Linked DNA regions of Homo sapiens: regions 1, 2 and 4 are each linked to region 3. Evidence: promoter capture Hi-C in 16 types of primary human blood cells and fetal thymus (Javierre and others, 2016). All regions are on one chromosome and are shown on one strand. The core of a region is centred on a gene start or on the middle of the fragment in contact, and the rest is flanking DNA. Distances in the headings are between cores, read along the strand shown.

Region 1 (6,021 bases), core at 751-3,250, 230 kb after region 3:
TCTTTCAGCCTCAGGATGAGCTCCATTCCCGTTTCCAGGTATTAGAGTCAAACCTACCCCCACCTCCCACCAGAGCCCCGGCTTAGAGAGACATTAAAGGTCCCAGAGCTCCAACTCAGAAACACAAAGGATATTCGAGAGAAGAAGAGGTCAAGGTTTTCAATATGGTGCCAAGGTGCTGTGGGATAGGAACAGAGATGTCAGAGCCCTGGGAGAACACAAGCCCCTTGCTCTCTCCATGTTCTTCCATCAACTCTCCCTATGGCTGTCATATCCAAGAACTCACACTTGCTCCCCTCGGCGACGTGCACCAACAGGTCCTCCTCCCCTGGGGGTGAATCACTATAGGAGGCCTCTAGGCGCTGGTATTCAGTGTCAAACTGCGCCATCACCACCGCCCCCTGTCCACCTTGACCACCTGCCAATAAGGAGGAAGAAGAGACCCTGATTCAGTTCCAGCTGCTGCCCATGGGCTGCCCTGCCTACTGCCAAAAGGAGAAAGTACCCTTGGGCTTTGTCCACTACCAGCCTCCTTGGCTCAGAGGCAGAGGAGTAGTGACACAAGAAAGGCAGTAAGCTCAGGGCTGGGGGAGCCTTAACTCTGGCCAGTCTGGGTGTCTACTGCTGCTTTCCTGGCCCAAAGCCAGAATCTGTCCCTTTGTTGGGGGCTGTTTCATCTTCTATTTAACGGACAGAAGAGTCCCTCCCCCGCCCATCCTGGGAACCCTGGTCTCCCAAGAGACTAACAGTTTGGAAGCACTTCACAAACAAATGTTTGAGAAAAGCACATGGCCCTACCAGCTCCATGGACAGTATGTGCTCCTCTCCAGCCCTCGATGCTCTGCAGCTGCTGGAGGAGAAGATGTCAGGCCCCAGAGAGTGGGCAGTGGGGATAAAAAGGAACCCAACCCTCCCAGCCATCCACACCCCACCAAGAGGAGGCCAAGCATGGGGCAGGAAGGCTGCAGTGGGGAAGAAGCACCCTTCCAGCCCAGGACTACGAGCACTTCCTCTGGCTGTGCTAAACCGGGCCACTCTTCCAACTCCAGGGTCTCAAGAAGTAACTTAGGGACCCCATGGAGAATGAGTGGGTACAGACCTGAGGCCAGGGGCGCCTCTGGACTATTTCTCCATTGCCCTACCTTAGCCTCAGAAATGACATACTTCTCAGGGTCCACAAAACCTCAAGAGTCTTTCCTGAAGAGGACCTTTCTGGTCAACCCCTTCTCTTACTTCCCTAGCACCAAAGATCCAGCCGGTGAGCAAACCTTCTGGATGGGAAACCTTGACTGGGTCAGTGTAGACCCCCGATCCTAGGTGAATTTGTGGGTTCCCTAGGTCCTGTAAGCCAGGCATGGTCGAGGTGGTACTCACCTGTCCGTGCAGCCCCTGGGGGCCGTGGATCTTGGCCCAGCCTGGCCCCGGTGGGATTCCCTGGGCTAGTGAGAGCCCTGCCCCTCAGGGAAGTCACCACTCACAGGGTCAGTGTGGACCAGGGCCCGTGGAGCCCCGGCCGGCTGGGCCTGGGCTCAGGGGTTCCTGCGGATGTTGCAGGGATCGAGTCAGCCTTACAGCTGATAGCCCGGGTGGGTTGGCTTGCCTCCCCACACCCAGCCGCGGCGACCGTGGACCGGAGTCCACCTCGCCCCAGGGTCGCCCGGCCCCAGGCCAAGGGCTGGCAGCTCCCAACAGCGGACAACCTCGCGCGCGGCCCCGGCGCCCGCGCGCGCCCCCGTCTGCGCGCGCCAGCAATCAAAACATTCCGGCTGCGCGCCCCCGCCCCGCCGGCGGCGCCCCTTCCTCCGTTACCCGCCGCGAGCTCACTTAGGGCTCCGCAGGCACCCCTGGGCAAGGCCAGACACGGGGCCTGGGATTCCAATAACCGGTCTCACGTCTTACCTCAGGAACAGCGACCCGGGTGATTCCAGAGGCTCCGCCGGCTCCGCTCGGCTCGGCTCGGCTCGGCGCGACCCGCGGCGCTAGGCCGGGTGTCTGCCACTCACTGTCACCCGCAGCCAGGCTGGCCAATAAGCACGGGGGGCGGAGACACAACGGCCAATTCTCGGCTTCAGGGACGGGACTAAAGTCTCGAGGCGGGTCTTGGACAGTCAGCGGCCCAATAGTGTGCTCTACGTGGGGCGGGGCTCAGGTGCGGACGCCGCCGGTTGTCCTCTTCGCTGCTCCGTAGTGACGGGGATTGTTGTGTTGCAGAAATCCGGCAATCGACCTGAGGACTTGCGAGCCGCTCAGCTCCCGGGACGTTTGGTGCGTCTTCTAAGGGCGTGGGCGAGTTTACGCGGGCCAGTTGTTGCTGGTCGCATGGGTAACGAAGAAAGTTCGGCTAGGCAAGCTCAGTGATTTTTAACTCTGTTGGACTCGATTTGGGAGCCGAATGCCTATTTCATTCTTTTGTGGGCTGAGACTGGGGGTTTGAGAAAGTGGACGGGGGCCAAGGTATTCATCTCACAGTTGGTAGCAGGATGAGAGACGAGAAGTCTTGCGGTGCAGGAGAAACCAAGTCAGGCAGGCAGGAGACGCAGCAGTAGGATCTCGTTTGCAGGAGCCCTGTTTCTTACACGCTTTCTACTCCAGGAGCTGCTGCTAAATAATTTCTGCTCAGCCATGTCGCCGGCTCCAGATGCAGCCCCGGCTCCTGCGTCGATCTCCCTGTTTGACCTCAGCGCGGATGCTCCGGTCTTTCAGGGCCTGAGCCTGGTGAGCCACGCGCCTGGGGAGGCTCTGGCCCGGGCTCCGCGTACTTCCTGTTCAGGTATCCTGGAAGGTTTCGTGTGAAACGTGACAGGGCTCCTTACAGCGTATTGCCCGTTCAGGGAACACATTCTTATTGGTATTCCCGAGCTTAGGAGGCCAATTGATTTATCTTTCTGCTTGATTAAATTCACTTAATCTCTGGGTAATGTCCAGCACAGCCCTTGTTTTCAAACAAGTCTTTTTGCCATTGCATGTATCTCCTCACGTTAACACCATTCCCTTCAAAAACACTTTAAACTTTGTAGAGATAAAATTCTCAGATGTATTCCACATTTAACCAGGCCCCACTCAAATTATTCCTTTTTGCTGAATATGAAACAATTTATTATTTGTTTCGTATAGCTTTATTTTTTGAGAGTCTCGCTCTGTCGCCCAGGCTAAAGTGCAGTGGCACGATCTCCACCCACTGCAATCTCCGTCTCCCGGGTTCAAGTGATTCTCCTGCCTCAGCCTCCCGAGTAGCTGGGACTACAGGCCCGCACCACCATGCCCGGCTAATTATTGTATTTTTAGTAGAGACGGGGTTTCACCATGTTGGCCAGGCTGGTCTCAAACTCCTGGCCTCAAGTGATCCGCCTGGGTCAGCCTCCCAAAGTGCTGAGATTACAGGCATGAGCCACCGTGTCGGTCCTGTTTTGTGTAACTTTAGTTTGGCTACATCTTTTCTTGCACCTCTCCTTAGACAAACTGTACACTAATTGGAAATGTAAACTTTAAAAAGCATTTGGGAAGTAGTTTTTGTGCAGTGAAAAATAATTTTAAACTGAACAGAAATTATTTTCTTTAGGATTCACCTAAACAATCTGTTTGGCTAATTTAAATTAGACAAGACTCAAACTCAGCCAGTGGGGAGGACTTGCAGACGCTGGATCTCGGGAGAGGGCTACGTTGGAGAAGTTTAACCGACCCCAAGGCTTTTACCCTCATCGGATTCTTTTCCAGAATGCCCAGGGCCAGTTTTTATTTACATTCGTTTTATTTATTTTATTTTTCTTCATCTTTTTTGAGACAGAGTCTCGTTCTGTTGCCCAGGCTGGAGTGCAGTGGTGTGATCTCGGCTCACTGCAAGCTCCGCCTCCCCGGTTCATGCCGTTCTCCTGCCTCAGCCTCCCAAGTAGCTGGGACTACAGGCATCCGCCACCACACCCGGTTAATTTTTTGTATTTTTAGTAGAGACGGGGTTTCACCGTGTTAGCCAGGATGGTCTTGATCTCCTGACTTCATGATCCGTCTGCCTTGGCCTCCCAAAGTGCTGGGATTACAAGCGTGAGCCGCTGCACCTGGCCAATTTTATTTTATTTACATTCATTTTACGTACATGTTTTCAGAAGCATGTTTATTGCATTAAGTGATTGCTGTACTGTTTATTTCATGACTATTAGAGTGTAAATTCCTTGAAGGCAGTATCATGCCATCTCTTTTGTATCCTCCTCTGCTTTGTATATCACACTCTGAATATAATTCTTGTCACTGTGGATTTGGGCTCCCTTTCTATGTCCAATTCCTCTTCCCTTATTTAGGCTCAGGGGAGAGAGAAAGCCCAGAAAGAAAGCTACTCCAGGGTCCTATGGATATTTCAGAGAAGTTATTTTGTTCAACTTGTGACCAGACCTTCCAGAACCACCAAGAACAGGTAATAGGTCAGGTGCAGAGCTAGATGTTAGAAGCAAAAGTGTAATGGTGGGTGGGGAGAGGTAGACATTTGATTTGTCTTAATAAAGGTCCATGCTTTGACTGAGGCAGTTGGTGTTACCTGGTTGTACTTCCTAGAATACTATAACTGGTCTTGGCCAGTACAAGGCCAGGCTGGGGCATATTTCCACCTTTATCTCACTCTTTGTCTTTGTACTAGAGGGAACATTATAAGCTTGACTGGCATCGGTTTAACCTAAAGCAACGTCTCAAGGACAAGCCTCTCCTGTCTGCCCTGGACTTTGAAAAGCAGAGCTCCACAGGTGATGAGTGGTAGGGGGACCTATGTAGGAGTAGGACATGGAGGTATAAGAAAGCACTAGTTTAGAGTTTGAGGAAAGAACAAAAATGGGGTACCAAACTTGTGTATCTCATATTGTCTGTCTTCAGGAGATCTTTCCAGCATCTCGGGATCAGAAGACTCAGACTCAGCCAGTGAGGAGGACTTGCAGACACTGGATCGGGAGAGGGCTACATTTGAGAAGTTGAGCCGACCCCCAGGCTTTTACCCTCATCGAGTTCTTTTCCAGAATGCCCAGGGCCAGTTTCTTTATGCCTACCGCTGTGTCCTAGGCCCTCATCAGGCAAGTGACAGTACAGGTTGCATGGCTAACCCCAGCCTTTTGTACACCCAGCCTAGATTTCCCTTAGCCTAGTGCATTTCTCCCTGCTTCTCTTCCTTCCTGTTGGTTGTGGGTATCACGCTTGACAACATAGTCTTGAATTGAAACTGGCCTGAATTGTGGAAGGGTTAAGTGTAATGGAATTAAGTTTGGAAACAAACCAATTTAGGTTTGAATTGTGATTCTACCACTTCATCTTGACTGCCTCGCCAAGCCTCAAATTTCCTTGTTTGTCAAATGGAAACAAGCCTCAGGGTGGTAATATTAAATGAGATAATGTTTGTGAAAATTGGCCCTTAGTTTCTTGCTCTCAGTGAATGCAACAGATATGTTTCTGATGCTTCTCTGTCATCAAGGATCCCCCAGAAGAGGCAGAACTGCTGCTACAGAACCTGCAAAGTAGAGGTCCCAGAGACTGCGTGGTGCTCATGGCTGCAGCTGGGCACTTTGCTGGTGCTATATTTCAAGGGTGAGAGGGTGCTGCATGGGGGTAAGGATGGAGTGGATCCTGTTAGCCAGGGAGCACCAGCTGGTCTCCAGTACTGAGTCTGTGCTGTCTACAGAAGAGAAGTGGTGACACACAAAACTTTTCACCGCTATACGGTTCGGGCCAAGCGGGGCACAGCCCAGGGGCTTCGGGATGCCCGAGGTGGGCCATCACACTCTGCTGGAGCCAACCTGAGGCGCTACAATGAAGCCACACTATATAAGGTGAGTTAAGCCTTTTAGATCTGGTGGTACTGATCCATACTTTTTTTGCATCTCTGTTCAACTCACTGTTAAGTAGGGAGGTTTTTGACTCATATCCTTCCAATTTTCATTATAGGTAGACAAAGGTAGATGAGGGATTCCCCAGGAGCCTTAGTCCTCTATTCTTTCTCCGTGTTATCCTCTACTTTCCACCCCTTGCACTTCTGTGGGCCATTTTTTTTAG
Region 2 (6,084 bases), core at 1,772-4,271, 180 kb after region 3:
TAGAGCGTCAGGGGAAGAATGCACCCCCAGGAGGTGATGAGCCACTGGCAGAGACAGAGAGTGAAAGCGAGGCAGAGCTGGCTGGCTTCTCCCCAGTGGTGAGGTCCAGGGAAAGCGGGGGTGTCAAATAGAAAGCCAGAGGAAAAATCTTTCTGCTTTGGAGCTGCCACCTCCAAAGGAGGTGGAAGCCAGAGGTTTTGGGAGAGGGGATGCTCCTGATAAATTGGTTCTCTTATCCCCTCACATGTCGTGTTCATCCTGGTTCTCCTGCCAGGTGGATGTGAAGAAAACAGCATTGGCCTTGGCCATTACAGACTCAGAGCTGTCAGATGAGGAGGCTTCTATCTTGGAGAGTGGTGGCTTCTCCGTATCCCGGGCCACAACTCCGCAGCTGACTGATGTCTCCGAGGGTATGGGGAGCCCTTTGCTGCCCTGCTCCCCGCCACAATCTTTGTGTTCCCTACCATGGGTACTTACTGTGCTCTCTGGCCCACTCACTCTCTAATTCTCTCAGCTCCTAAAAGACCTTAACACCTAAGGCTTGGCCCAGCTTTCCATGTCTTGAGTTCTCATCCTTGAACTCATTGTCTGTTGTGGCTAATCAGACCAGCAGCAGGCCCATTCTTAATTCTTTGTTCTCTGCACAGATTTGGACCAGCAGAGCCTGCCAAGTGAACCAGAGGAGACCCTAAGCCGGGACCTAGGGGAGGGAGAGGAGGGAGAGCTGGCCCCTCCCGAAGACCTACTAGGCCGTCCTCAAGCTCTGTCAAGGCAAGCCCTGGACTCGGAGGAAGAGGAAGAGGATGTGGCAGCTAAGGAAACCTTGTTGCGGCTCTCATCCCCCCTCCACTTTGTGAACACGCACTTCAATGGGGCAGGGTCCCCCCCAGATGGAGTGAAATGCTCCCCTGGAGGACCAGTGGAGACACTGAGCCCCGAGACAGTGAGTGGTGGCCTCACTGCTCTGCCCGGCACCCTGTCACCTCCACTTTGCCTTGTTGGAAGTGACCCAGCCCCCTCCCCTTCCATTCTCCCACCTGTTCCCCAGGACTCACCCCAGCCCCTGCCTGCCCCTGAGGAAGAAGAGGCACTCACCACTGAGGACTTTGAGTTGCTGGATCAGGGGGAGCTGGAGCAGCTGAATGCAGAGCTGGGCTTGGAGCCAGAGACACCGCCAAAACCCCCTGATGCTCCACCCCTGGGGCCCGACATCCATTCTCTGGTACAGTCAGACCAAGAAGCTCAGGCCGTGGCAGAGCCATGAGCCAGCCGTTGAGGAAGGAGCTGCAGGCACAGTAGGGCTTCCTGGCTAGGAGTGTTGCTGTTTCCTCCTTTGCCTACCACTCTGGGGTGGGGCAGTGTGTGGGGAAGCTGGCTGTCGGATGGTAGCTATTCCACCCTCTGCCTGCCTGCCTGCCTGCTGTCCTGGGCATGGTGCAGTACCTGTGCCTAGGATTGGTTTTAAATTTGTAAATAATTTTCCATTTGGGTTAGTGGATGTGAACAGGGCTAGGGAAGTCCTTCCCACAGCCTGCGCTTGCCTCCCTGCCTCATCTCTATTCTCATTCCACTATGCCCCAAGCCCTGGTGGTCTGGCCCTTTCTTTTTCCTCCTATCCTCAGGGACCTGTGCTGCTCTGCCCTCATGTCCCACTTGGTTGTTTAGTTGAGGCACTTTATAATTTTTCTCTTGTCTTGTGTTCCTTTCTGCTTTATTTCCCTGCTGTGTCCTGTCCTTAGCAGCTCAACCCCATCCTTTGCCAGCTCCTCCTATCCCGTGGGCACTGGCCAAGCTTTAGGGAGGCTCCTGGTCTGGGAAGTAAAGAGTAAACCTGGGGCAGTGGGTCAGGCCAGTAGTTACACTCTTAGGTCACTGTAGTCTGTGTAACCTTCACTGCATCCTTGCCCCATTCAGCCCGGCCTTTCATGATGCAGGAGAGCAGGGATCCCGCAGTACATGGCGCCAGCACTGGAGTTGGTGAGCATGTGCTCTCTCTTGAGATTAGGAGCTTCCTTACTGCTCCTCTGGGTGATCCAAGTGTAGTGGGACCCCCTACTAGGGTCAGGAAGTGGACACTAACATCTGTGCAGGTGTTGACTTGAAAAATAAAGTGTTGATTGGCTAGAACTGCTGCCTCCCTGACTGTGAGCTGCCTTCCACACCCTGCACTGCACTGTGTTCTCTCCTCACCCTTAACCTGCTTCACTCCAGTCTGTTCTGGCTGTTTATTACCTTGTTGCAAAACAGGGCCGAAGCAAGGATTACCTTGACAACCCTAGCTTCTCCTTAGCCATCTTCCTTGACAGTGTGATCTGTTTAGTGAGATTTAGCATGTGTGAATAAAGTATATGCAGGAGGAAATTGCTTTGTCTTCCCAATCGGTAGAAATTCGGGACCATAAAAATTGTGTTTTACCATGTGGCCTACAACCTTAACACTGCTTTCTTAAGAAGTCTTCACCCATCTACATGCTAACAACTCACTCAGCCTGGATTTATCTTTACTGGGGAAGCCAAACAAGCAATAGAGGACCTTTACCTGTGTTAGAAATGAGTTGGAGCCAAGGAACACTGAAGAAATAGTATCTTAACAGTTACTGAGTCCATTGTATGTGCTTGGCTCTGCTCTGAGTGATTTATATGTATTAAGATTTTTCCTCACAGGTCAGATATATACTGTTACTAACTTCATTTTATAGACAGGTTAAGCTTCCTGAAGGCCACAGGTCCCAGTAAATTGTGGAGCCAGAACCCAAACCCAAGAAGTTTTGGCTTCAGCAAATGCATCAGACAGCCCCTGTCCATTAATAGGGCACAGGTAGGAAGATGCACAAGGATGTGGGAACTATAGAGAACCAATCTGATGCCTTGGCTTAACAAAGAGTGGACATGGCAAGCCTTCCTCTTTGGGGAAGAAAAGCCCAGAACTGAGCAGATGGCCTCCTTTATGAGTTCATGTCCTCCGCCTTCAGCTGGAGGTACCATATGGCGATGCTACCTGTCTTTCTGCTGGAGGTACCATATGGTAATGCTGCCTGGCTGTCTGCTGGAGGTACCATATGGTAATGCTGCCTGTCTTTCTGAGGTTGACTTTTATGCCATGTCTTTCCTAAGTGTGTAAGAATTTTTCTGTTTGCTTCACATTTGACTGAGAATCATTCTAGGGTTTGATTGAGCCCCTGTCCTGTGCCACTAAAGGAACTCGAACTTTTCATCACTTAGAGATTTCAGAGGGGAATGGAAAAACAGTTCTAATCAATAAGCAAGCAATTCAAGAAAAATAGAATTAATCAGGCAATGACTGCAACATGTCCTATCTTTAATCTATTTTCTTATTAAGCTTGGACATTGACAATAGAACCAGAAGCTTGTAGCTGGATCAAAATATTCTCCATAGGCCTGGAGTTTCATGAGGGTCTATTCTTTTGTTGTTGTTGTTTTGGTTTTTTGTTTTTTGTGGGTTTTTTTTTTTTTTTTTTTGAGACGGAGTCTTGTTCTGTTGCCCAGGCTGGAGTGCAATGGTGCAGTCTTGGTTCACTGCAACCTCTGCCTCCCAGGTTCAAACAATTCTCCTGCCTCAGCCGTCCAAGTAGCTGGGATTACAGGTGCATGCCACGATGCCTGGCTATTTTTTGTATTTTTAGTAGAGGTGGGGTTTCACCATGTTGGCCAGGCTGGTCTCGAACTCCTGACCTCAGGTGATTCACCCACCTCGGCCTCCCAAAGTGCTGGGATTACAGGTGTGAGCCACGGCGCCCAGCCTCATGAGGGTCTATTCTTTACATTCACCATGGTCTGATGGTTGCTACATGTTTGTCTATGATTTTTTTTTTCTATTATCAGGTGTCTTGGCCGGTTCATGCCCCACGATGAAAGGGCCAGAGGTTTTCATATGAGTAAAAGAAAAAAGCAGAAATGTGAAACCTACAATTAGGCTAAACAAAAATCAACTGGAAAAGTACAGGCTGAGGGGAGAAGAGTTGGCTACATGTTTATGTTAGGGGAGGAGGGAGTACATTTTAGCTATGTATTCAAACAGCTAATAGTTTAATGTTGCTGCTTATAAACTTAATTTTAGGCTGCATTAATAAAAGTGTAGTCTCCAAAACAAGAAATGTGATAATTCTAGTGTCCTGTGCACGAATATCCTAATACTTCCAGAGGATGGCTTGCTAGGCTTGTGGGCAAATTGTAGTATGTCCAGGAGATGACTGCTAGAAATGAAGGCTGAAAATCATCATAGGACAAACTGTTGGAGGAACTGGGAATCTCTAATCCAAGAAGAGAGCTGAGTTGGTTCACATCAGCTGGCTTCAAACTTCAAAGGTTTGTCTGCAGGACTTCAGAGGGCAGATACGAGTTGAGTTTGGTTGATAATAGTGCTAGGTAGAATTTAATTTTCTAGTCAAGGGAATATTGCAAAGCAGATTTAAATGATCTGCAAAAGTATAATGATCAAGGGCGGTAATTCTAAGAATAATTCCAACATGGAAGGACAATATTATCACCATGTTTTGCTTTTAATGTCCAACTAAAGTCAGCTTGGACTTCTCTTCCTCTGTCTGCTCCCTTAAAAGTTGGTATTTTGGACCGGGTGCGGTGGCTGACGCCTGTAATCCCGGCACTTTGGGAGGCCGAGGCAGGCGGATCACAAGGTCAGGAGTTTGAGACCAGCCTGGCCTACATGGTGAAACCCCATCTCTACTAAAGTACAAAAATTATCCGGGTGTGGTGGCGCATGCCTGTAATCCCAGCTACTGGGGAGGCTGAGGCAGGATAATTGCTTGAACCCGGGAGGCGGAGGTTGCAGTGAGCCGAGATTGCACCACTGCACTCCAGCCTGGGTGACAGAGCGAAACTCTGCCCCTCACCCCACAACCTAAAAATGTTGGTATTTTGTTGGGTGTCAGTGGCTCACTTGTCTTTGCCCTCTGCTCACTCATCATGGACGATTTCATATATTCACCCATATAGTTCCCACTCAGATGCGGATGCCTTCTAAATCTTAGTTCATTTCCTTTCCCAGAACTCCCAACTAGGCATCTCCACTTGAATGTCCCATGGGTACTGCTATGATTTGAATATTTGTCCCCTTCAAAACTCAGTTGAAATTTAATCCCTAATGTGGCAATATTGACAGATGGGCCTTTAAGAGGTGAGTGGAGGCTGGATGCAGTGGCTCACACCTGAATCCCAGCACTTTGGGAGGCCAAGGTGGGCGGATCACTTGAGGTCAGGATTTCGAGACTAGCCTGGCCAAGATGGTGAAACCCCGTCTCTACTAAAAATACAAAAATAATCCGGGTGTGCTGGCACGTGCCTGTAATCCCAGCTACTTGGGAGGCTGAGGCAGGAGAATTGCTTGAACCAGGAAAGTGGAGGTTGCAGTGAGCCTAGATCATACCATTGCACTCCAGCCCAGGCGAAGAAGCAAGACTCTGTCTCAGAAAAAAAAAAAAAAAAGGTGAATGGATAAATCCGTTCATGAATTAATGGGGTGATGGAGTAATGAGTTATCATGGGAGTGGAACTCATGGCTATATAAAAAGAGGAAGAGAGATCTGAGCTAGCATGCTCAGCCCCCTCACCATGTGATCCTCTGTGCTACCTGAAGACTCTGCAGAGTCCCTATCAGCAAGAAGACCCTCACCAGATGCGGCTCCTCAACCTTCGACTTCTCATTCCCCATCACTGTAAGAAATTATTTTCCTTTATGAATTACCCAGTTTCAGGTATTCTGTTACGATACAAACAACGGAAAATGGATGAAGACAGGTAACCTTCTGCTCATTATATCCAAAACTGAACACATCCTCTTTCCACTCTGCACTCCACTCCCCCACCTCCCCAAAACAGAAGTCTTTTTCTGTAATTTCCATCTCACTTGCTGGTATACCAACCACGAAGGCCTCCTTCTCCCTCATCTCACACTCAGTTGATCACCAGTTGCTGCTGATTTCTTGACTGTCACCTCCATCACAGCCCTGACTCACATCCTCCTCATCTCATCTGGCCCAGTGGGACAGTTTCCCTGCCATATTCTTGTCCCCCCACCTGAAATTTGTGCCCAAGAAGGTGGCTGGAT
Region 3 (6,432 bases), core at 1,624-4,123:
GCTTGTCCATCTGTGGCCAAGAGGGAAACTCAGAGAGATGGAGTCAGATCTGTGCCCCTCACTGGCCCCTGGTGTCCAGCCACGGCCTGGGCCTTGCCCCTCCCTCACATTCTGTCCTTTAATGGGAGGAGATGGGCTTCCAAGATAAGGGTATCACCCTCCCCCCACCTCCAAACCTGTCTGCCACCTAGAAATCACCTCTTTATCCTTTGCTGGGGCTAATTCCCACCCTAGTTTGGGGTGGGATGGGGCTGTTTTGCAGCTTCCCCCTTTCTCCATACACACGATGCCTCCCGCCTCTGGTCCCCTGAGCCCTAGCCCCATGAATCCACATCCCCAATCTCTCTCAGCGTACATCTCTTGTTATCTTGAATTGTCTCCATGTGTCTCTCTCTGTTCCTCTTCCCTGGTTTCTCTCTGGTCATCTCTGCCTCTGGTCTCGCTCTCACAGTCTAGGGTCTGCAGCCTCTGCAGCCCCTGGGATCTCCCCTGTGTTCTCACACCCCTCTTTCCTTCAGCCTATGCTCTTGGTCTCTTTCTCATCCTTCTCCATTTCTCTTCTGCTGTTTCTCAGCTGCTGCACTCCAACCGCTCAATCCCTTTTCCACTTCCCCCACTACCTGGTCCCTCCCCCACCCAGGGTGCTGACAGGGACGACAGGAAGCAGGCTCCAGCTTTGAGCAGGAGGGGGAGGGGGCCTGCCTCGTACAGCAGCTGCTGAGTGCCCCCCTCCCCATGCAGCCCCGCACCTGCAGGCCTGCCCGGCACTGGGAGACCCCGCCCTGTGGCAGCGGAGCAGCGGAGGAGGGACCTGGATGAGAGGCCAGATCCCTGGTAATGGCCAGCAACTGCAGTCTTAGGATGGATAGTGGGTGGGGGACTGGGGAAATTAGGCCCTGGGGTGAAGGGGCAGTAATTCTCAGTCACCAGGAAAGATCCCCGCCCACTGGGTGGCTGCCTCCTTCTCACCACCCTCCCCTCAAGGCTGTGTGTGTGTGTGTGTGTGTGTGTGTGTGTGTGTTTGGGAGGGGGTCATTCCAAGCAGAGATCTCTTTGTTGTGCAAACCCAGGATGTGGAATCCTGGCCCCTGACATGGTTGGGGAGGGAAGGGGAAGCCCTCAAAGACACAGGGAAGGTGCACCAGGACCATGCCAGGCCCCTGACAGGCAAATCTTTCAGTGCCAGGCAGAGTAAAGGGCTGGCCCAGGACAGAGCCTGGTCAGGGGGGCCAGGAGAGGGCTGCACACACCCTAGCCCAGGACCCAAGGACCTTCCCCTGCCCCTGGGGCTGCTCCACGAAGAGCCCTGCTGTAGTCCACCCTCTCCCTAAACCTGCCTGGGATCTGTCCAACGCCATCTCGCCCCTCCCCCTTCTCTCTCTGTGCCACGGACTCGGGCTCAGCAGATCCTTTGGGGCCTCTGGGTAGTTGGGTGACATAGGGGCACTAGAGCGGGTGGTGGTGGAGGGGACAATCCAGCACCTCTAGGAACATGCAGTTTGGAGGGACTTCTGACCCTGGTTCCCATCTCCCGGGGCTGCCTCTGCCTGAGCTGAGGGCCACCTACCTACCCCACCCCAGCTGATGGAAGCGAGGATGTGGGATTCTGAGGTTTGAGGAAGGTGGTGAACCGCTGTGCCTGGGGGCTTGTCCTTTTCAGTCAGTCTGACTGTCTCAGACGTTTTTAGACTGAAAGAGGGACCAAGGGAGTGTCAGGGAGTGACATCTCAGGATGTCAGCAGCACCACAGAGATCCGAGGAGTGGATTTGAGGCTCCATGGTGGCCCTCAGCTTCCCCCGCCCAGATTTTCCACACCTCAGCCTTGGCTCCAACTCCGTGAGGGCCTGCATCTTCCCCAGCATGACCAGGAGCCCAGGAACCGGGACAGGAGGCTGGGGAGGGCCTAGCCCCTGCGGGAGGCCAGACCAACCGTTCACTGAGCAAATGGGAAAACCAAGAGGCCGGGAAATGACTTGCCCAAGGCCATAGAAGTCGCGGGGACAGAGGCGGACTAGAATCCGGGTTTCCACCTCCAGAAGGGTTTCTGTTCTGGGCCACGGCCCCCTTCGCCACCCGCTGGAGCCGGCTCAGCCCGTATTACGACGCAGAATGGAGCCTGGCAGCCCAGAAGCTGCGGGCAGGGCAAGGCAGGGCGGGTGGGGCCGGATGGGAGCCGGATCTCCCCTGGAGCGGCGCACAGCCTCTCCCACCCGTACGGTTGAGATGGCGGTGGCGGTGGCGGCGGCAGGTGCCTGCGTGGCGATCAGGCCGGCCCCCGGGCTGGTGCTGAGAGGCCGCCCCTGCCTCACGCGAGCCGAACGAACAAAACGCTCAGGTCCGGTTTGTGCGAGGGGCTCGTCGCGGGGCGGGAGCGGAGGGCCCGGGGCCTGGCGGTCGCCCTCGGTGATCTCCTGGTCCTGGTCTTCCGCGAGCTCAGTGCTGCACAGCGCCCCGCTAGCCTCCGCCCTCACCTGAACGCATCTGCGGCTGACACGTCGGCGGCCGCGGCGGCCACCGCAGGTGCGCACCTGGCCCGCCCCTCCTTTCCCAGCCACCCTCCGCCCGGCTTTCCTGGCCCCTCCGCCCGGCCCAGCCTAGCTTGGCTTCGTCCCCAGCCCACGCCTTGGAGCTTGTCCCGGAGCCCGGGCTCCGTGTGCTCTTATACTGCCTGTTCAGTCCCCGCCCCCAGACACACACACTCACACCTGTCCAGGCGCCCGTTTGCTCGGGGCAAATATTGACTCATGGAGGCGGAGCGCTCCCCCCTCCCCCGCCCGGGCTCTGAGACCGGAGCTTCTCCGAGGCCTTGGTGGCGGGGGCGGAGGGGAGGGTGCTGGGGACCCTGGGCGCCTCTGGAACAACACCAGATGTCACTTTTCCACCCACCTGCCTCTGGGAGGGAGGAGCCGAGAAGCAGAGGACAGAAGCTCCCGGGCGGGGGTTAGGAGGAACCGAGAGGTGGGTATCCATCCTCGTCTGAGGACTGATTCACAGTGGGAGTCGCTTAGCAGGGTCTGTGGCCCGAAATCCAGTGGTGACCTCGACCCGCCCCAGCCTAGTTCCTGGCCCTCCGCGGCGTGCCTCAGTTCTTCCTCCCCAGCCTCTTGGGCACTCGGAGCTCGGCAAATGCTAAGGGGCTGGCCCTGGGGGTGCTAAGCCTCCGAGCAGGCGCGGCGCGGAAAGGTGAGGGGTGGCCGCCCTGCCCAGTGGACACCTGCTTCGCTGGCCAGGCCTGGCACTCAGTTACTGTGCACCAAGGTGCGCTGGGGCAAAGGCCAGCCAGGCCCCGTCCGGAGCGCCCTCCACTGGCCAGACCCGGTCCAGCGGCCGGCAGCTAGCGGCCAGGTCTCAGTCCAGCTGCAGTGTGGGCGGAGAGGTGCATCCTCCCGGGCCCTAAGTTCCCGCCGCGCCTCTGCAGTCCGCCCGGGCTGCTCCCTGCCATCCTTCCCTCTCAGAGCTCGCGCGCGCGTTCCCCCTCGTCGGGGAAATAAAGTCAAGGTAGATACAGAAAAAAGACTAGATGCTTTTACTGGCGGTGGAGAGGGGGCCAGGCGTGACCCCTAGCGGCATGTCGGAGAGGCTGGGCGCGGGCATTTACGGAAGGTCGGTAGGAAGTGGCACCACCGGGTGGAGTACCTCTGCTTGCTGCGTCGGCAGCAGCGTGTCCGGGGTCAGACTCCTGGAAGACAAAAAGTCCCAGGTAGGCGTGGGGGCGAGGCTTCGGGCAGAGCCTGGCTGCCCCCGTGGCCCCTCTCGCGCGGTCTGCGCGGCCGCTGGTCCCGGCGCCCTTACCTGGGCACGCAGAACGGCGGCAGGGCGATGACGCGTGGCCGCGAGGTGAGTACCACCTCCCCGCGGCTCGCCTCCACCAGGATGTTCTGGATCATGTTCTCCAGCAGCGCCTCCTGCAGGTTGGCGAAGGCCGGGAGCCTGCGAGGGGGCGGGGGCTAGCATGAGGGCGGCCGCAGTGCCCGCGCGCCTCCTCGCTCGCCTGTCCGTGCGGTACATTGTGCCGCGAGCTCTACGGAGATTCCCATTCGACTCCCCTCATCCACTACACTATGGGGCATTCTTGTTTCAATGTTACGGACGTTCCAAGTGTGGCTAAAAGATTCCAAGTTGCCAAATATGCTGCTGGTTTAAGGGGTGGGATTCAAACCCAGGCGATGTAGTAGGCATCTCAGGGCCAAGTTTAGAGAAAGGTAGGGAAGTGATGAGAGGGCGCAGAAGGGACTGGGTGGGGCCTAGGGAATCCCTACAATGACATAAATCATCTGTAGGGCAGCCCCGGCGGGAAGTCCCACCTGCAAGACAGGTGGTCCTTTTCTGGCTCTAGAAGCCCATTTACAAGACTTTGCAGACTATAACAATTCTCCTGGTAAGTTGGTAAATGTCAACAACTAGTTCTTAGAGAAAAAAGAATAAAGTTCAGTGTTGGTGCCGGGCGGATACTCCCACAGAGGCCTTAAGCTACCAACATGACCTCACTAAGCACTGAATTAGGATGAGATGTGCATACAGGCAGCAGCCATCCTTGGCATCCCACTGCCTCCTAGGAACCTTCTGCACTTCGCCTCCCTCCCGTCCTCACTGGGGCCTGGCTGCTCACCTTCTGATGGCCTCCTTCTCGTCCTGTTCTTGCTCCTCCTTCACCATGACATTCAGCTGCTGTTGCCACTGCCATTGCATGGACTCCTGGGACTCAGGCTGTGGTGTGGGCCCGATGCCCGCCCAGCTCACTTTCTCTTCCTTCTCATCCCTCTCCTCCTCCTTCTCCTCTATCTCCTCCTTGCCCAACTCCTCCTCTTCTGTCTCCTCTTCTTCCTCCTCTTCCTCCTCCAACTCTTCTTCTTCCTCTTCACCCTTCTCCTCCTCCCCCTCTTCCTTCTTTCCCAACCCTGGATAGTGCTCTGGTCTGTCTTCCTTCGGCTGCTTGCCCTTCCCATCCTCCCAGCTGCTGGAGGGTACAGGCAGGATTGGCATTAAGTACAGGCTGTTTTTCTGGTCCATGAACTTAGTTGACTGCTCATTCCAGAATTGGCGGAAGTACGGCACCTGCTCCACCAGGCTTTGGTCCACAGCCTCATGGAAGTTCTTGTCTTCCAGCAGGCCCCTAGGTGGCAGGGAGAAGGAGAAGGCCCTTGCTGAGGGGCCCTGAAGCCCCTGGGGAGCCCTGGCTTCAGAGCTAGGTTCTAGGTGGGAAAGGGGCTGCTAGGTGGGGAGAGGGGAGCCCTTGGTCAGTTGTTCCTCCTGTCCCTTCTTTCAAGGAAGACATCTTTGAGCCTCATGGATTTTTAGAAGCGAACATGGTATGCTGGAGGCAGGGCAGGTCAGATTCACACACATGATGGGCAGGAACCCTGGGGAGATAGTGGACTGGCTCCAGACTCATCTGCCAGCCCTGGAATGGGGCAGAACTCAGGATCCAGACCTGAGAATCCCTCCAGCCAGCTCCATCAGAGCCCCACTGTCCTGGGGTGGGGGGGCCGGGGGGGGGGACCGTGGTGGGATCTTGCAAAGAAGTTCTGTTTCTTTTTTTCTTTTCTCTCTCTCTCTATTTCTCTCTTTCTTTCTCTCTCTTTCTCTCCTCTTTTTTCTTTCTTTCTTTCTTTCTTTCTCTCTCTTTCTTTCTTTCTCTCTTTCTGTCTTTGTCTCTTTCTTTCTTTCTCTTTTCTTTTCTTTTTTTGAAAAAAAGCTCTGTCTCCCAGGCTGGAGTACAGTGGTGTGATCATGGCTCACAGCAGCCTCAACCTCTCAGTTAATTAAGCTAATTAATGGTCTCAAGCAATCCTCGCACCTCAGCCTCCAAAGTAACTGGGACTGCAGGCATGCACCACCATGTCCAGCTAATTTTTGTATTTTTTGTAGAGATGGGGTCTTGCTATGTTGCCCACGCTGGTCTCAAACTCCTGGGCTCAAGCCACCCGCCCACTGCTGCCTCCCAAAGTGTTGGAATTACAGGCAAGAACCTCCATGCCCCACCAAGTTCTATTTCTCAAGAAAGGAAGAGTGCTGGAATGTAAGGGGCTCTGGCTGAATGAGCTGGAGGGATGCGAAGGTGGCAATGAGGGCCCAGGGTGTGAGCTGGTACCTGATTATTGTGGTGAGAATGTCAACCAGGAGCTGCTTCTTCTGCTTGGAAACAGGGCCCCACTTGTTAGGGGATTTTTCCTCAGAAGTCTCTGACTCTTCCCTGGGGGCCTTCCTCTTTGGCAGCTCCCTGTGGCAGCCATGACATTCTGAGTGGCCTGGGCAAGCCACCATGCTGGGGTTGGGGGCACAAGCAGTGGTGGTAGCTGCCCAGTGATGAGGACACAGATGAGTTTGAGGCACTCCCAGCCTTAACCCAAATGTAGTGCTACTGGGTTCAGAGAACCAAGCTCAAACCCTCAGAGTTAGCACGGGAGCTAGAGAGACTCCCAGTTGGAAAA
Region 4 (6,762 bases), core at 4,263-6,762, 140 kb after region 3:
ACTTTGGGAGGCCAAGGCAGGTGGATCACCTGAGGTCAGGAGTTCAAGACCAGCCTGGCCAACATGGTGAAACTCCATCTCTACAAAAAATACAAAAATTAGCTGGGCGTGGTGGCTCAAGCCTGTAGTCCCAGCTACTCAGGAGGCTGGGGCATGAGAATCTCTTGAACCCAGGAGGCAGAGGTTACAGTGAGCCGAGATTGTGCCACTGCACTCTAGCCTGGGCAACAGAGTGAGACTTGGTCTCAAAAAAAAAAAGCAGGGGGGGAGTGGGGGAAAAGGGAGAGAAAAATGGCTAATTTCAGACAACGGGAGGTAGAATAGAGAAGATAGGCAGATTCAAAAGACGGTCAATAAATTAGGCTTTGAAAGTAAGGACAAAGAGGAAAGTGAGTGACTCCCAAATTTCTAGCTTAGAAAACTGAATGGATGATGGTATAATTCCCCAAGATAAGGAATATAAGAGAAATAGTCTGGGGGAGTAGATAATTCATTTTGGACATGTTTAGGATGTGCTTTATGTGGGACATCCAGGTGGAAATGCCAAACATGCAGAAAGAAATATGGGCCTAAAACACAGTGGAGATATAAAATTGGTATTCAGCGATGTACCAACAATAGTTGACACTGGGGTCTAGATGAGATGACCCAGAGGAAGGAAAGTGAAGTCTCAGAGGATCAGGGACCTGATCCTGGGAAACACTAACCTTTAAGAGGCAGGCAGAAGACGGAGAGCCAGCCAAAGAAACCAATTAGAAGTGTGAACAAGCTTAACAAGATGGCAATTTTCAAGTTAAAGCATTGCCCATCTTCCCCAGGCGATATAAGCTCTAGCTTCGTAAGAGCAGCAGTGACTCTCTTCATAGTTTAAAGTATCTGCTCTAGAATCAGGCTGCAACCAGACAGGAGCTGAAGACAGTAACTAAAACTAGGCAGAATATAACAACCATGGCTGCACTTAGGATGCTAAGTCAAATCAATGTTAACTATAGCCCCCTAATTTCTTAGCTAAGGTATTATACTGAACAGATTAAGACTTATAAGGCATTCAGAATGCAGCAGTAAGAACGACTGCAGGGAAGAGAAGAGAAGAGAAGAGGAGAGAAGAGTAGAGAATTGCAAAATCTCCATCTCTGCTAAGGGACCCCTACCAAAGGAAGCCAACTTCAAGCAACTGCCCAGGTTTTGGTGTCAAGGGCTGATTCCTAGCCAGGGGTTGCCAGCTGTAGAGGGCGGGGCTCTATTTTGGGCTGCCTGCTGTCCCTGAGCCTGGCCGCGTCTGGTTTGAGCAGCATGCAGCCCCAGTGACTCACACACCCATGCAAACTGCCTGTGGCTCAGTGGCATGGCCTTGGAATGCCAGCCTTAGGCCAGCTCCCTCCTCACCCCATTACACTGGGATAAATAAATAAAGAGCCCGCCAGCAGCCACACAGCCTGATGGCAACCAGATGGAGAGAGCGAGGCATGGACAGGGCCAGGGGAAGGAACTCCCTCCAGTGGACTAGACTGAGAGTGGGCTCTGCCCAGTCATCCTAAACTTCCTTTTTCATATAGTTCCTACTGCCGTGTAACAACAGTCCCTAAGTCCCTGACTCTTCTTTCACTCCTAAAGATGCCTCTCAACCCCCAGTCCTACAAAATGCCCTATATAGGGTTCTTGGCCTCCATGAAGATCATGCCAACAGGCATCCCACCCAGGCTTGACTTGAGTCAATATTGTCAGTATCACCCTCTAGTTAGGCCACTATCAACTGGCTCCTTGGGTTCCCCAGAATTGAGAAATCAGAGGCTCTTAGACAGAGTGGAAAAACAAAAGGACCAAATAGGGAGAAGTAACCCCTGTTCAATTCTTATTTTCCCGAGCCTTAGTATCCTAGCCACCTGCCTGGCCTACTGTCCCCTGTGCCTTATTGTCTATAGCCTCTTGCCTAGTAATAATCCCAATGAGAATTTTAAAAACTGACCCCAGGCAATGACCGCATGGCCCTCTGACACCAGCCCTGGCCCCCCTGCGCCTTCATCTTGAGCTCTCTCCCTGGTTTGTTTATCTTCCTATTCCATCTTGCTTATTTTGATGGCACATCCTTTCAGTTCAGTCTTGGGTGACCCCATGACCCTTCTGTGTCCTGTTTGTAGGACCCCGGGCAAGCAGAGTAACTAAAAAGATGCAGTAGTCATAAGAAGTTCTACAGCCCCAGTAGGAAACCTTTCAGTTCCAGCAGCTATACAGGACATTCTGAGGACAGTGCAATGACCCCAGAGGTCACAAGAATTCCATATTACCCCAGCCCTTATGTCTCCCCTAACAGGTGTGTACAACCAGTTAAACTAGCAAAACAAAACAGGGATAATCCTAGACTATGTGTCAAGAAATGTGAGAAGTCCTAAACATAAAGCTACAGCTATATGACCTTAGGCAAGTCACTTAACCTCTCTGAGGCTCAACTTCTTCATCTATAAAATAGAAAGCTGTAACTACAACTACCTATCTCTCACTTCCTTTCCAGATATAATAAAATTCTACAAGTCTATGAGGTTGATCCACCCAGAACCTACAGGACCAGTATTCTTGAAGTAGCTGGTTCCAAAACACTGATACTCTTCCTGTGCTGCCACCTAAATTCTGTATGCTTTCTCATTCAATTCCGCAGGGCTCCTCCCAACCCCATAGTATGAAAACGATGAGCCTCTAATTTTATAAATGAGAAGTGATTTATCCAAAGCTGCAAAATGAGCCATGAGAATAACTGAAGACCCCAAATATAGGTCTAATAAGCAACACTGAGCCAGGTGCAGTGGCTCACGCCTGTAATCTCAGCACTTTGAAAGGCCAAGGTGGGCGGACCACATGAGGCCAGGCATTCAAAACCAGCCTGGCCAACATGGTAAAACCCTGTCTCTACTAAAACTACAAAAATTAGCCAGGTGTGGTGGTGCATACCTGTAATCCCAGCTACTCAGGAGGCTGAGGCACAAGAATCTCTTGAACCCGGGAGGCAGAGATTACAGTGAGCCGAGATCACCCCACTGCACTCCAGCCAAAAAAAAGCAACACTGTATCCACAGGCCACAGTGTCATAATCTGTATAAAATCCCCCTAGCATAGACTTATCAAAATATTAATCCAAACTTATTGAAGACTTACTACCTGTAGGCACCACGCACAGTGCTGGGGATATAGAAATGCATTCAGCATGGTCCTTGCCTCAAAGAGTCCACAGATCAGTGGAGGAGAAAGCCATAGTCTTGCAGGCATACAAACAGTAATATTACAATGTTATAAGTGGTAAAACAGAGGTATAATCCAAGGTACTATAGTAGCAGGGAAGAAGAATAGTCTTTACAAGCAGAGTACAGAACGGTCTCCCAAACAAGGTGAAGCTGACATCTAGAAGATTAATAGAAGTTTGCAAGTTAGATAAGGCCAGAACATTGGACATTCTAGATCATGGGAAGAATGTGTATCTAAAGACAAGATGAAACAGCATTGGGGCAAATTAAAAGTCATTCCATATAGCTAAGGCATAAAGTACACAGAGAAAAATGTCAAGAAGTCAAGCTGGAGAGGTATGCAGGCACTAGATCAGGAAGAGACCTCTCTACTGAGCTAAGAACAAGCCTTGCATTGTTTAACTAAGGGGATGAGGCAGGGAACCAGCATGTTATCCCCAGCCTTGATACCTAAACTTATAGACAGGGGAAGCTATCTAAGAGAAAAACGGCCTAAGAAATCTCTCTTAGTCACAAGTTTAGGTTTAACGGTCTCTCTTTACCCATAAAAACTTGAAACCTTTTCTAGGCTAGGCATGGTGGCTCACATCTATAATCCCAGTACTTTGGGAGGTCAAGGAGGGTGGATCACTTGAGGCCAGGAGTTCAAGACCAGCCTGATCAACATGGCGAAACCCCGTTTCTACTAAAAATACAAAAATTAGCTGGGTGTGGTGGTGCGCACCTGTAATCCCAGCTACTTGGAAGGCTGAGGCAGGAGAATTGCTTGAACCTGGGAAAGGGATGTTGCAGTGAGCCAAGATTGTGCCATGGCACTCCAGTCTGGGTGACAGAGCAAGTGAGGCTTCGTTTCAAAAACAACAACAACAACAACAACAACAACAAAAAGACTTGAAACCTTTTCTCTTTCAGGACTTAGCAATACAAGTTTTCCTTCTTCTTCAGACTTACAATTGCTTCAGTACCTGGACTGAGCACCTACCTCACATTTTTTGCTTTTAGTGTTTAGACCCCAAGCATTGTAGCTCAGTCAATGCACAGAGGCAGAACAGGAGGTTCCAAATAAAGAATACCTGCTTTATGCCTAGCCCTTTAAAAAGTGCTAATTTAGGGTTCAAAAGAGGTACGGGACACAGACCCTGTCCACAAAGAGCTTACAAATTAATCTAGAAGACAATAAAGAAATACAAATAATCTATACATAATACCAGATTATAATAGCATTATTTACTTACATGATAAAGTACCAACTTGGGTAACATATATAATTAGAAAATGGGGCAATAGGCCGGGCGCAGTGGCTCACACTTGTAATCCCAGCACTTTGGGAGGCCGAGGTGGGTGGTCACCTGAGGTCGGGAGTTCCAGACCAGCCTGACCAACATGGAGAAATCCCATCTCTACTAAAAATACAAAATTAGCTGGGTGTGGTGGCACATGCCTGTAATCCCAGCTACTCAGGAGGTTGAGGCAGGATAATCGCTTGAACCCGGGAGGCGGAGGTTGCTGTGAGCCGAGATCGCACCATTGCACTCCAGCCTGGACAACAAGAGTGAAACTCCATCTCAAAAAAAAATAAAAAAAAAAAAAAGAAAATGGGGCAATAATACTAAGGTACTAACTGTACAACCAACAAGTCACAGAAGAGGGAGGGAAGGAGAAGATCAATATTGACTGGCATTATCAAAGGTCACTATTATTAATACTTTCCCTATTTGGCATTTAATAGATGTTTCTTTTGGCTGAGCTCAATCCTTAGAAGGGAAACCTAGGCAGGAGCTTCTGACAGGCCACAATTATCTACTCCCCATTCATTCCTTTGCCAGTCCCCTTGTATAAACACTGTGATTTTCCACAACCTACTGTGCCCACAAGACAGCCCCCAAATGGTAGCCCTAAGCTTTTTACCTTCCTCTCCTGCAGGATCCTGAAAGGGCCTAGACAAGTAATGACGCCTACCCTTCTCCTCCACAGTCCAGACCTTACGACCAGATCTCAACAAGCAAAAATTTAATAACTGGTCAACCAACCTTTCCAAGGTTAGAGAATTCCAAATGAAATCCCTGGTACTTTAACAGAGATGTTTTATAAATATCAATCAGTCCACTTCCGCCTCTTACGTTCTTTCCCCGTTTTTTCCCTCATCTTCCCTAAGTACATCTCAAGCCTTATCAGACTTTCTATGGGCAACTTTTTCAGACAAAGGGCATTCCAACCACACAAGCCACCTAACACCCAAAACACAAATGGCCACTCAGGCACCTGGAAAGAGGAAGTAGGGCAAAGACACACAAGAAAATGACAAATACCTTACCTCTATCATAAATTGTTCCAAGAAGGAATTTTCTTCAAATGGTTCTGTCTTCAATCGATCTGTAATAAGAAGGATCAGAAAAAAGAAATATGAGTCATACAGGATGAGTTTCTTACCTGATGGAAAGGGAACAGAACAGGGCTACTTAGGAAAGAGGAGGAAGGTGCATCATGCAGAGACACCTAGTTCAGTGGGAGAAGAAGGGCTGAGAGCATGTGGGCAAAAAGTAGTGGGAGAGGGTGATTAGCAATAAATGGCAGGTTTGGTGGCAGCATCTGCTCTAGGAGTTTTTCCTGCCACAAAAACAAAGGCCAAATTGAATTTTTATTCTGAAGTTGGAGCCATGAAGCTTCCTAAACTCCCAAGTCCATGTTGCTCTGGTACAATTCTGTATAGCTATTGGCTCCTTTCCAAAGTCTTTCCCTGCCATTGCCTAGGGCATGTCTGGACTCGGTTACAGCTTCTATTGGCCACTTGGGCTCCAGCCAGGTACTCGAGGCAGAGAAAAGTGTCACCTAGGCCAGGCACGGTGGCTCACGCCTGTAATCCCAGCACTTTGGGAGGCCAAGGCAGGCAGATCACTTGAGGTCAGGAGTTCGAGACCAGCCTGACCAACATGGTGAAACCCCGTCTATATTAAAAATACAAAAAAATTAGCCAGGCATGGTGGCGTGCGTCTACAATCCCAGCTACTCGGGAGGCTGAGGCAGGAGACTCGCTTGAGCCCACGAGGCGGAAGTTGCAGTGAGCTGAGATCATACCACTACACTCCAGCCTAGCTGACAGAGCGAGACTCCGTCTCCAAAACAAACAAACAAAAAAGAGTCACCTAATATCAAGACTCCAGTTTCTGGTTAGTATTCAGCACCCATCCTGGGGGAGGCACTTCTCTAATGCAAATGAGTCTCCCTCTTTGCTAAGACCCTTTGACTATTTTTAACACGCCCCACCCAACTCCTCCAAGAATGTCCTCTTACCTCGAATCAGCGTAGCCCCACTCTCCTGGTAGTCTTGGATCTCTAGGTCTTTCATATGAAGTAACGTTGCTAGCTCCCTCACTTGGCACTGTAATGCCAGACTCATGCCCATCAGAGGACGAATCAAATGTTGGGAGACCTTTGAGGGAAGAGATATCAATTAGCCAAAAGACTCTTATAAAGTACTTTCCAATTCAGTATTAGGTACCAGAAAAAATACCGAAAAATAAATGTTCTT

Evidence for each region. Contacts are between HindIII fragments. The CHiCAGO score rates a contact against its expected background, and 5 or more counts as called.
Region 1: the fragment with the promoter of ATG9A here is called in contact with the fragment with the promoter of CFAP65-AS1 in region 3 in 3 of 17 cell types (naive CD4 T cells, total CD4 T cells and naive CD8 T cells); the score reaches 6.0 in naive CD4 T cells.
Region 2: a fragment that was not itself captured here is called in contact with the fragment with the promoter of CFAP65-AS1 in region 3 in 1 of 17 cell types (M1 macrophages); the score reaches 5.4 in M1 macrophages.
Region 4: a fragment that was not itself captured here is called in contact with the fragment with the promoter of CFAP65-AS1 in region 3 in 12 of 17 cell types (M2 macrophages, endothelial precursors, M0 macrophages and 9 more); the score reaches 12.3 in M2 macrophages.

What each region holds. Positions count from the first base shown.
Region 1 is chr2:219,227,636-219,233,656 of GRCh38, forward strand. ATG9A (autophagy related 9A) reads right to left here and starts at 2,001. Exons shown (of 16, transcript NM_001077198.3): 1 at 1,900-2,001; 2 at 799-850; 3 at 287-418; 4 at 135-178. The coding sequence starts at 389. It overlaps ANKZF1 (ankyrin repeat and zinc finger peptidyl tRNA hydrolase 1), which reads left to right and starts at 2,171. Exons shown (of 14, transcript NM_018089.3): 1 at 2,171-2,265; 2 at 2,593-2,770; 3 at 4,293-4,405; 4 at 4,625-4,727; 5 at 4,855-5,048; 6 at 5,444-5,556; 7 at 5,651-5,798. The coding sequence starts at 2,623. RefSeq lists enhancers at 941-1,489, 1,490-2,037, 2,038-2,585, 2,256-2,365 and silencers at 1,716-1,765, 1,976-2,105. The HindIII fragment of the contact is 5,267 bases long and covers 1-4,637 here.
Region 2 is chr2:219,181,366-219,187,449 of GRCh38, forward strand. RETREG2 (reticulophagy regulator family member 2) reads left to right here. Exons shown (of 9, transcript NM_024293.6): 7 at 4-98; 8 at 275-410; 9 at 648-4,110. The coding sequence ends at 1,264. Among named protein-coding and RNA genes, the nearest start is that of RETREG2, 6.1 kb to the left of the region's middle. The HindIII fragment of the contact is 631 bases long and covers 2,707-3,337 here.
Region 3 is chr2:218,999,342-219,005,773 of GRCh38, forward strand. CFAP65-AS1 (CFAP65 antisense RNA 1) reads left to right here and starts at 2,874. Exons shown (of 3, transcript NR_046086.1): 1 at 2,874-2,959. CFAP65 (cilia and flagella associated protein 65) reads right to left here. Exons shown (of 35, transcript NM_194302.4): 32 at 6,093-6,221; 33 at 4,611-5,114; 34 at 3,794-3,931; 35 at 3,505-3,680. The coding sequence ends at 3,596. MIR375 (microRNA 375) reads right to left here and starts at 2,367; the gene lies at 2,304-2,367. RefSeq lists enhancers at 220-1,203, 2,646-2,940. The HindIII fragment of the contact is 13,795 bases long and covers 1-6,432 here.
Region 4 is chr2:219,141,133-219,147,894 of GRCh38, forward strand. NHEJ1 (non-homologous end joining factor 1) reads right to left here. Exons shown (of 8, transcript NM_024782.3): 4 at 6,525-6,663; 5 at 5,548-5,606. Among named protein-coding and RNA genes, the nearest start is that of NHEJ1, 16 kb to the right of the region's middle. The HindIII fragment of the contact is 763 bases long and covers 5,132-5,894 here.